2 separate regions of the Homo sapiens genome follow, and region 2 is linked to region 1. Evidence: promoter capture Hi-C in human tissues and cell types (Jung and others, 2019). All regions are on one chromosome and are shown on one strand. Each heading gives the region's core, a stretch centred on a gene start or on the middle of the fragment in contact. The rest is flanking DNA. Distances are from core to core; before and after follow the strand shown.

Region 1 (5,095 bases), core at 634-3,133:
GATAGAGCCTGGAGATCCCACAGACACCTCCTTCTCCATGGATCCCAAAGGGAATTCATTTCCCCTCACACTGCCTAAGCCACCTCGGGGTCTGGGCGTGAAGTCAGGGGAGGCAATCCAGGCAGCGTCCTAATGAATTCCTTTCAAACCGCCTGCTGCCGGAGCGATCTATTACTGCGGCCTGGAGTGGGGAAACGCGATCGAGACGTCTTTGTCCGGGTGGTGGTAGGGAGGGAGGAGGCGAGGAGGAGGAGAGGGCTGGCGGCGGACCAGCGAGTTTTCCCAGCGTCCCGGGGCGCCAAGGACACACCCTCCCCTCTTTCCTCCAGGTCTGCTGGGTGGGCAGTGGGTCTCCGGCGGGACTCCTGGCAGAGGAGCTGATCTGGGATTAAGACGTCCCCCGGGGGGCCTTGGGGCTAGAGCGAGAGAAAGAGGAAGAACGCGAAAAAAGAGCTTCAAAGAATCGGGTCGATAAATTCATAAAGATCGATTTATCTTTATCTCCCAATTAAATGTGCTTGTAAGTGATACATAACACACGTCCAACACGGGCCAACTCCCCAACCACTAGCTCCTCGGCGTGAGCTGATTTTTAATGACCGAACTAACAATGCCCTTCTTTCCTTCTCCCCAACCCGGTGCTGTTGGCGGTTCAGGGCTGACGTCTAGACCCGGGAAGTTGAAGCCCGGGCCTTGGAGACTCGAGGAAGCCCCGCTCGCGCTGGTGCGCTCTGCACGGTCTGCCGTTGTCAAGAAGTGATTCCATTTTTAAAGGGAAGACAAGAGCTGAAAGTTTTTTGTTTGAAAATGGAAGAGGGGATAAGTACGTCCCTAGTTTCCCTCCACCCCAAAATTCCCTTACTTTCAAATTTGGGGGTCTTTACCGTTGTCGAGAACAGGGGAAACATCCTGAGGGGATCGGCTCCATCCTGCAGTTAGCAAAGAGGAACCGCGCGCCCTCGAGTCCTCGCGCTGGAAACCGGGCGGCGGCGCCAGGGTGAGCACTCCTTGCGTTCGCAACGTGCTTAATTAGCGCCTATTTACAAAACGCAGCTTTTATTTGAGCAAACATCATAAAGCTTTCATCAGGATAATCTCACGTTATACAATCTGGAGGCACAGCAACTCCCCCCTTCCTCCCCGAGGATGGAGCAGATAAAGGACTCTCTTTATTATCATAATTATCGTGGTTGTTATTTTGGTGCGCGCTGGCAAAGTGTGTAAATAGGTGCGATGATTAAGAATGTCATGAAAAATGAGAGACGGGATCGCTCACGGGAGGGCCCAGCCCGGGATGGGGGAAGCAGCAGCCTCCCCGCCCCACCCGGTGCGCGGACCTACAGCGAGCAACCCGGCGGGTTTCTGGCGGCGGGCAGGCGCTGCCAGCTCCCAGCCTTCGCCCCGGGGGTGGCTCCGGAGGGGCAGGACCCTGCCCCCAACTCCAGGACCCTCGCCCGGACCCCAGGCGCAGCCGGAGCACCCAGCGCTGGAGTGAGCCGCAGGCAGGTTGGTTCCATGGCAAATACAGTAAAAGAAATAAAGCGCCCCCGGCCCAGCCGTGGGGGTGCGGGCCCCGGAGGCTACCCTTCGAGGTGGCCTCGACAAGGCTGCAGGGCCCCAAGGTCCGAGCCTTGGAGGTGCCATCCGCCCGTCTCAAGTTTGCGCGGCACGGGCTAGGCATGCAGGCTCCGGCTCCCCGGCCCGCGCGCTCCGACGGTGGCGCCCGCAGCCCGCTCGAGGCCAGCTTGGGTGGAAAGGGCGGGGCCCCGCTTTCGCCCCACCCCCGCCCCGCTCAGCCAATGGCCAGAGGCGCCCAGCCCCACGTGAGGCGAGCCGGGCCAGGCGGCAGGCAAAATGTGAATGAGAAAGAGGAGCGCGATTTAAAGGTGCTGGCTGCGCCCGCCGGAGATAAGTACGCCGGCTTCGCGCGCTCCCCAGCGGCCCGCGGGAGGCGACGGACGGCGGGACGGACGGACGGACGGCAGCTTACCGGGGCCGAGGGCCAAACCCGCGAAGCGCGCGGGCTCCGACGGGCAAGCGGCGGACGGGGGCTCCGGCGAGCCCTCGGGGCCCGGGCGCCCTCTCCACTCCGGGGCGCACGGCCTCACCCCGCACACCCCCTGCACCCGCCCGGCATGCAGCGGGCCCAGGACTGAGGGGCGGAGGCGTCTGCTCTCCGGGTCCCGCTCGGCCCCTGCCCGGCGCTCCCGGCGGTGCTCCCGGCGTCCGGCGGGCTTCCCGGCGGCGGCGCGGCGCGGGGACTTTTCGCCTCTCGCTGGCCTCTACCGAGCGCGTCTATGAGCGCAGCGTTCCCGCCGTCGCTGATGATGATGCAGCGCCCGCTGGGGAGTAGCACCGCCTTCAGCATAGACTCGCTGATCGGCAGCCCGCCGCAGCCCAGCCCCGGCCATTTCGTCTACACCGGCTACCCCATGTTCATGCCCTACCGGCCGGTAGTGCTGCCGCCGCCGCCGCCGCCGCCGCCCGCGCTGCCCCAGGCCGCGCTGCAGCCAGCGCTGCCGCCCGCACACCCTCACCACCAGATCCCCAGCCTGCCCACAGGCTTCTGCTCCAGCCTGGCGCAGGGCATGGCGCTCACCTCTACGCTCATGGCCACGCTCCCCGGCGGCTTCTCCGCGTCGCCCCAGCACCAGGAGGCGGCAGCGGCCCGCAAGTTCGCGCCGCAGCCGCTGCCCGGCGGCGGTAACTTCGACAAGGCGGAGGCGCTGCAGGCTGACGCGGAGGACGGCAAAGGCTTCCTGGCCAAAGAGGGCTCGCTGCTCGCCTTCTCCGCGGCCGAGACGGTGCAGGCTTCGCTCGGTGAGTCGGCGGCGCGCGCAGCCGGGACGAGGGGGCGGGAGGAGGCGGGGGCGGGCCAGCGCCGGGTTCCCGCGGGAGACCAAGGGGGCGAGGCCGCGCCCCCGCTCGACCCCCGCGGGAGGAGCTGGAGGATGAGGCCCGGCTGTGCCGCTGGGCCTCCGGGGGACATTCAGAGCCACCCAACAAGCGGGGTCTCGGGAGGGGGGGCGTTTAGCGCCCGGCGACCAGCTGCTGCCCTGGGCCACATATCTATCTGACGATGCGTTTGGCCGAGGCCGCCTCTGCCGCTCCGCGGTGACCTGGGGTTCCGGGTAGGTTGCAGCCTCTAGGGGAGACGGGTTGGGCTGCGCGTCTCAGCCGTGCGTGTGCCCAGGGGCGCCCAGACTTTTTAAACCCCTTCGCTGGTCTTGCTACTTGTCTGGGAGAAACGGACTGCTGGGAGGCTGTGCCTGTGTGTTTGTGTTGGGGGTGTCTGGTGGGAACTTATAAGGCCACAAAACATCCCTTTGACCAACGTTGTCTGTCTCAAAAAAGATGGTCTGGGATCTGCACGTCCCTACGCCTCCACTCCGGTTAGGAAGCAATTGAGGTTCACTACATTTTCATGGTGGCGGTGGGGGGAGGATGAATCGTGAATCCCCCCATCAGTCCTCAACCAGTCCCCACCCCAGGGACAAAGCGGGCAATCTCTTGGGCCTCGCGCCTCCTGCTACTTCTCCTGACGCTGCCGAGGCTGGGAGGGTGCGGGGGAGGCATGGCGGCCCTTTGAGTGATGGTTCTGGGCAAAGGGCCGTCGCCTGTACTGCCTCCTCTCCTTTGAGCTTTCTCACGCTCCCCCCACCCCTCCTCTACCCCTCAAAGGCCAGGAAATCACAATGTGTTAATGTCATAGAAAGACAATCCGCTAAAGGGTGGGGGGCGGGGGGCGCGGAATGTCCAAATGACGGTGGGAAGGAGAAAGGAAGGCCAGTGTGCGAAATGTAATAAAATGCCGTTTGGTTTTGCTTTCAGTCGGGGCTGTCCGAGGGCAAGGGAAAGACGAGTCAAAGGTGGAAGACGACCCGAAGGGCAAGGAGGAGAGCTTCTCGCTGGAGAGCGATGTGGACTACAGCTCGGATGACAATCTGACTGGCCAGGCAGCTCACAAGGAGGAAGACCCGGGCCACGCGCTGGAGGAGACCCCGCCGAGCAGCGGCGCCGCGGGCAGCACCACGTCTACGGGCAAGAACCGGCGGCGGCGGACTGCCTTCACCAGCGAGCAGCTGCTGGAGCTAGAGAAGGAGTTCCACTGCAAAAAGTACCTCTCCTTGACCGAGCGCTCGCAGATCGCCCACGCCCTCAAACTCAGCGAGGTGCAGGTGAAAATCTGGTTCCAGAACCGACGGGCCAAGTGGAAACGGGTGAAGGCAGGCAATGCCAATTCCAAGACAGGGGAGCCCTCCCGGAACCCTAAGATCGTCGTCCCCATCCCTGTCCACGTCAGCAGGTTCGCTATCAGAAGTCAGCATCAGCAGCTAGAACAGGCCCGGCCCTGAGGGTCCAGAAGGGCCAGGGCCTGGCACCCACCTGGAGAAGCCCCCGCACCCGAGGGAACCCATGGTGGACTCCACTGTGTTTGAAGCAACAAAGTCACAGCCCAGCTGTGGCCATCCCAAGCAAATTGAGAATATATTCACTAAATGGGCTTAAAAGACTGCTTTTGAAGGGGCTTACAGCCACACCAGAAGACACGCTAAATATTTATTATACTATCCTACTTTGTACATAAATATCTCTATAGACTGGATCTCAGCTGCAGTATTTTGAAAGTTATAGGACTTAATTACCCAGTAATTTCTCCACTCATTCCAGAAGAAAACAAAACCTCTGCTGTAATCTGCGCGGTTAGCAGCCACCTTTCCATACTTTTCCAAAGGTAAACGTGAAACCCAAGAACAAGCACTGGGGTTTAAACTGATTTTGGTTTGCGTTCTGGCTTTTTGAGTTGACTGAAAAGCAGACATTGTTAGGCAGCCTGGAAATTCGCTTTGCTTTGCTTTGCTTTTGCCTGGCTTTGGTTTCCCCTGGGGTTGCCTATCCTATCTGAGCCATGTGAAGCACGTCTCCGTTGTGTTAATTTATTTCAATGTAGCTTATTTTCTTATAAGTTATGACATTTAAACAATTTCAGTCTTGTGAATAATAAAAAGGAGAGAGGGGGGGAAAAAGACCAATCCCTGGGCCTCATAAGTGTGTCCAGAATTTGACCGTCCCGGGCACTGCCAGGGTGTGGCCG
Region 2 (5,124 bases), core at 2,515-5,014, 1.6 Mb after region 1:
TGACTTCAGGGGCAGAAGCTTGTTTTCAGTGAGATCATACAATTGTGATCTTCAAAGAGCGTCCTGAGTCCTGGGTGCTTCCTGGGAACACTGTTACAGGCACCATCTTTGGAGTCCGGAAGACTTACTTGCTTTATCAACTCGAACAAGTTACTCTCTGGGCCTCAGTTGCTTCTTCTGCAAAATAGTGACTCACGGAACCCTTGTGAGAAAGGTGTGATTATCCATCAAAAGTGTCTGTAAGGCACGCGCTGGAGGCTAGCAGACAGCAAGGACTTGCAAATGAACTTACCCAGCCTGTGGTCTACCACAAGATCGTTTGACCTGTGTGCATTCTCAATTCTCCCATGAGATCGCTGTAACGTTTATCTGTGGTGGGTGGGGGATGCCGAAGGAAGTTTCTGGACCCAATTTCTTCTTTCTCCCTAACCTTATGATGATGCTGTGGGCTCTGCGCTCCCTCTAGTGGTGAAACTGAACACCTTCGCTATGAGAGCAGCGTCGTTCGGGGCTGAGATGGTTGTGGTCACGATGTGGGTTCCTCTCTTTGTTCTCCTGCCCTGGCTAGGGATGCAGTTGGCACCTTCCACTCTTGGAGAGTCTGAAGAATGCAGAAAAACTTCGGAGAATGTTCTGATCGCGGAATTTGTTAGGACAGAGTCTTACAAGAACTAATTTGAGGATTTTACACATCTGCATGTATCTTTGACCTTAAAACTCTATTAATTTTTCATCGCCCTTTTCCACACTAATTATACTTATCTTTGCAAGGGTATTATACTTCCTTCCAACAGGATTTCTTACTCTCTCAAGTGATTTTGATAATCTTCATAATCCTGTTAAAAATAGCCATAATTCGTTCAAGTATATGAGAGTTGAGTACGAAATTAGTTTGGCTGGTTGACTCACTGCATTTTAAACCCAAGGATATGGGAAGAATGTCTTAATAGAGCCATTTAAATTTTCAAGATGTGAACTTGAACTTACCCTCTGAAGTTGGGGTCTAAGTTAGACAAAGAATTCTGCTTTGTGTGTGCCTGAGCACGTGTGTGTGTCTAATTTAAGCTTTCCAAAACCAGGATCGAATTCCTGTCGGTGTCATTAGGTTGTAGAACTTACGTTAAATGTTCCCTCTTTTTGTCTTAGTGACGTCTGTGATGACAAAATAATTAAGATTGTGTCTCTCTTCATGGAATCAACCTAGATGTCCATCAATGGTGGACTGAATAAGAAAATGTCATACATGTACACCATGGAATACTATGGAGCCATAAAAAAGAGTGAAATTATGTCCTTTGCAGCAACATAGATGTGGCTGCAGGCCATCATTCTAAATGAAGTAATGCAGAAACAAAAAGGCAAATGTCACATCTCACTTACAAGTGGGTGCTAAACCTTGGTACACGCAAATATAAAGATGAGAACAATAGGCACTGGGGACTCCAAAAGGAGAGAAGGAGGGAGAAAGGGAGGGAGTGGGGAGAAAGGGCTGAAGACTTTCTACTGGGTACTACCCTCACTATGTGGGTGATGGAATCAATAGAAGTCCAAACATCAGCATCACATGATATATCCTTGAAACAAACCTGCACGTGTAACCCCTGAATCTAAAATATAAAACAATTTAAAAACTCTGTGTCTTTAAATGTTTTCCACCTGCACCTGAAAGAAGAAGAACCTACGCAACTTTGAATCATACGAAGGAGTAATAGAATCTTAGAGTTGAGCCAGAGATCTCAGAGGTCCTCGTCCACACACCTCCTGATGGAGAGATTCCTTCCATAGCAACCCTGAGAGAGGGCGGACTGACCTCAGCCAAATCCATCAGAATGCTTTTGTTTGCAAGACACAAAACGAGGCAAACCCAAACCATGTGACTTATCAGTGATGGGAACTCATTGACTCACTGTCTGCATCTCTATATTGGAGTATGAGAGGGGACCGGCCAAGAAGCCAGTACAGCAGCCAGCTGTTTGGGTTGCTAGGATTCCAGACCACATGTCCCTGGGCCCCAGGAGAGGAAGCTTCCCTCTCTCCCCAGCCCGCCCCCTTTCCAGATTGTAATGCTAATGATAAGCACAGGTGTGACAACATGGGTGTAAAGCCCCTCGATTTCTTTTTCAAGCAACTCAGACGTTACTAGAGTCTGTAGGAGAAGCACAGACCCATAGCCTGGAGAAGCCATGGAGGCCACAGGCTCAGGCTGCCCTTTTCTGGTGAAGTCATTTTCTTCTTCATAATATTCTTGCTGTAGCACAAACTCCTCCCGGGCCCTCCCCGCTGGTTTCCCCTAGACACAGCTCACTCAGCACCCTCACCGTCTGAATGGATGATTATCCTTTTGTGTGTAGTTTTTCTCAATTCTGACTTTGTTCTCATAGAGGAGGAGGCCTTGGCCAGGGCGAAGGGGTTCGGGAAGGCAGCCACGCCCTCGAGCGGGTGTCTTTAGCCCCTGCCTGGGCTCCCTCGACTGCTCCAAAGAATTCAGAACTGCCTGTTTCCTCTCTCTCACTCCAAAACACTGGTTTCTCTCTCCTCCAAGTCTGCCTGAGCTGCAACTTTTTCCCAAAGTTTAACAATTTAATTCCTTGATGCCTTTCTTCTTGTCAACGTTTATTTTGGGTTCAGGGGTACATGTGCAGGTTTGTTACATAGGTAAACTCATGTCACGACATCCGTTGCACAGATTATTTTATCCCCCAGGAATTAAGCCCAGTACCCAGTAGTGATCTCTTCTGCTCTTCTCCCTTCCCCCACCCTCCACCCCCAAGTAGACCCGTGTCTGTTATTTTCTTCTTTGTGTTCATGAGTTCTTATCATTTAGCTCCTGGATGCCTTTCACTCTTTCTTCCAATCACCCCTCCTAGTGGAAAGCCCAGAGGCCACGAGCTTTGGACGCTGTGGTCAGGTAGGCCAGTGCCCCCAGGGACCGCTCTGTGCCTCCCTTGGCCAGGGTTTTTATGGCAGCTGGGGCTGGCCAGCTCTTCCATCATGTGGGTGCCCCTGGGGAAACAGGGATTGGAGTGTGCTGACTTATACAAGCGCTGGGGAGCTAGCCACAAATGTCCACTATATCGCCCCCTTCTAGAAAATTTCCAGCAATGAGATCCTCACTGCCTTAGAAGGTGCCTGCTTCATGGTTGGTTGCCTTTCATTGGCACAGGCCTGGGAACCAGGCTTCCTGGGTTCAAATCCCAGCTCCACCAATTGGCAGCCCATAATATTGGGCAAGTTTCCTAAGTGCACTGGCCTCAGCTACCTCCTGTGGAAGGTGGAAGGTATAATTGTTCCACTCCAGCATTGCTGTGAGAATCAACAGGAGGACACACATAAGGCACCTGATGTGTTGCACCTGCTCAGTAACTGCTGTCTCTGCTTCCATTTATCCTCCAACACTCCTCCTTCTGCCCTTCAGCCATTCATTCTATTCCTATGACATGGAGGCCACAGAATCCGTCTACCCTTGCGTCTGTGTTTTCAGCATTTTGGGCAGCTCTCACTGCTTCAAAAAGAATTGCCCTTGATTCTTCCTCAGGCCAAACTGACTGCTTCTTCAACTTCTCCTGAGTTTACCTCACCTCCTCATACTGCCCCTTCTCACTTCCTTGAATCCACCTCTGCCTTCCCTGCTGTGCGCCCACCACACACAGCACGCCCTCACCACCCTGTGCACCGACCTTTCCTCCCTGGGCCCTTTCAGTTTGGCATGAGATGTCCTCTCTCCAGATCCTCTCCCCACTGCCCCCATCATCTCCCTGAATGACACCTGCTTTCCTCAGCACCTGATTTAGGTAACACCTCCTCCAGGAAAGCTGAATATCTTAAGACTAGTGAGGGCCAGGGCCTCCTCACCCCACTCCCTTCCTGCTTGCCTCTCTCTTCTTTGTTAGACGCTTCCCAAGGCATGAATCAACTCTGTCTGTTGGTCACTATTCCTGGAGTGTAAGCCCCTGGAGGGGGAGGGCTGTCTTTCTCACCTCCACCCCTCTGTTGTCTAGAAGAGTGTCTAGCATATAGGACAAGCTCAGTAAAGATTTGAAGAATGAATGAAGGAAGAAAGGAGCCAGCCCTCACACACTAGATGTGGTCTGACAAATGCAGAGAAAGCATGAACTCCCCCTGGTTTGCTAGGTCTGCTCGGCAGGAAGTGAGAAGGACAGAGCACTCAGGTGAGCTGATGGCTAAAAGCTCGCTGTATGCACATATGCACCTCCTACTGCATGCACATGTAGATAGGCAGATGGGTCTTTCCCCAGTGCTTGCCAATTGCTATTCTCATTGTGTGTAACAGTAAATGGGGGAAGGAAATTTGCAACAACAGGAGTGACAGTTGGTGCTGATCATGTTTTCTACGCTGCAAACCTTACCTGTAAACACATTGGGTGGGTTGTAAGTTTGTAAAACTGTTCAAGAAAGAATCTCAGAGAGGTTTCGGGAAGGGCTTTTAAAAGACAGCATTTGGTCCTAGGAAATATACATAGGCAAATGGGACGACTAAGTAGAATAAAGAGAATGAGAGTGAAGGTGTGAATCCAGGACACAGACTTTTGAAAGTGGCAAAGAAATTTATTTAAAACCATCCTATATAAGAGCAGTGGCAACAACATTCTCCCAGGCAAAAACACACAGACACTCTATCCGTCTCACACACACATGCAGGATCTCACACACACACACACACACACACACACACGATGCAAGATCACTAATATGATATAACTGACTAATAATGAGGATTTTTTTACAGCCTGTAATGAAATAATATCACGGTACAGACTCGTTATAATTCTTCCTCCTCCTTGCATCTCACTTATTTAACTAGAATTGAAGTAGGGAGAAAAAGAAACCTTCCATTCATCCTGTGGAGAACAGCTAATAATTGGGAAAAGCTGCCTGAATATTATACAGGTAGATGTGAGTCCGCCACTATGTTTTTATCCTCAGGGATCCAAGAATTTTAGGTTTGTATGTGAGGAGGGAGGGATGGAAGTGAGAAGGGTCTTTTAAAACTAAATGAAACCATGAGGAGATACCATCTCTTCTGGATTAAAAAACTTATTTTTTTTTTTTCATCCAGGCACGGTGGCTCACACCTGTAATCCTAGCACTTTGGGAGGCCGAGGT

What was found. The method cuts DNA at HindIII sites, captures the fragments that hold promoters and counts their contacts. A contact is called where the count stands out against the background at its distance.
Region 2: a contact is called between a fragment that was not itself captured here and the fragment with the promoter of GBX2 in region 1, in 1 of the 25 tissues and cell types used here (lymphoblastoid cells).

Annotation. Positions count from the first base shown.
Region 1 is chr2:236,165,174-236,170,268 of GRCh38, reverse strand. It overlaps GBX2 (gastrulation brain homeobox 2), which reads left to right and starts at 1,883. Exons shown (of 2, transcript NM_001485.4): 1 at 1,883-2,820; 2 at 3,832-5,033. The coding sequence starts at 2,298. The coding sequence ends at 4,355. GBX2-AS1 (GBX2 and ASB18 antisense RNA 1) reads right to left here and starts at 2,827. Exons shown (of 2, transcript NR_186035.1): 1 at 2,600-2,827. It overlaps LOC124906126 (a long non-coding RNA gene), which reads right to left and starts at 1,243. Exons shown (of 2, transcript XR_007088136.1): 1 at 885-1,243; 2 at 473-740. RefSeq lists an enhancer at 2,752-3,704. The HindIII fragment of the contact is 12,753 bases long and covers 1-5,095 here.
Region 2 is chr2:234,546,054-234,551,177 of GRCh38, reverse strand. No RefSeq gene overlaps it. Among named protein-coding and RNA genes, the nearest start is that of ARL4C, 52 kb to the right of the region's middle. The HindIII fragment of the contact is 4,438 bases long and covers 1,546-5,124 here.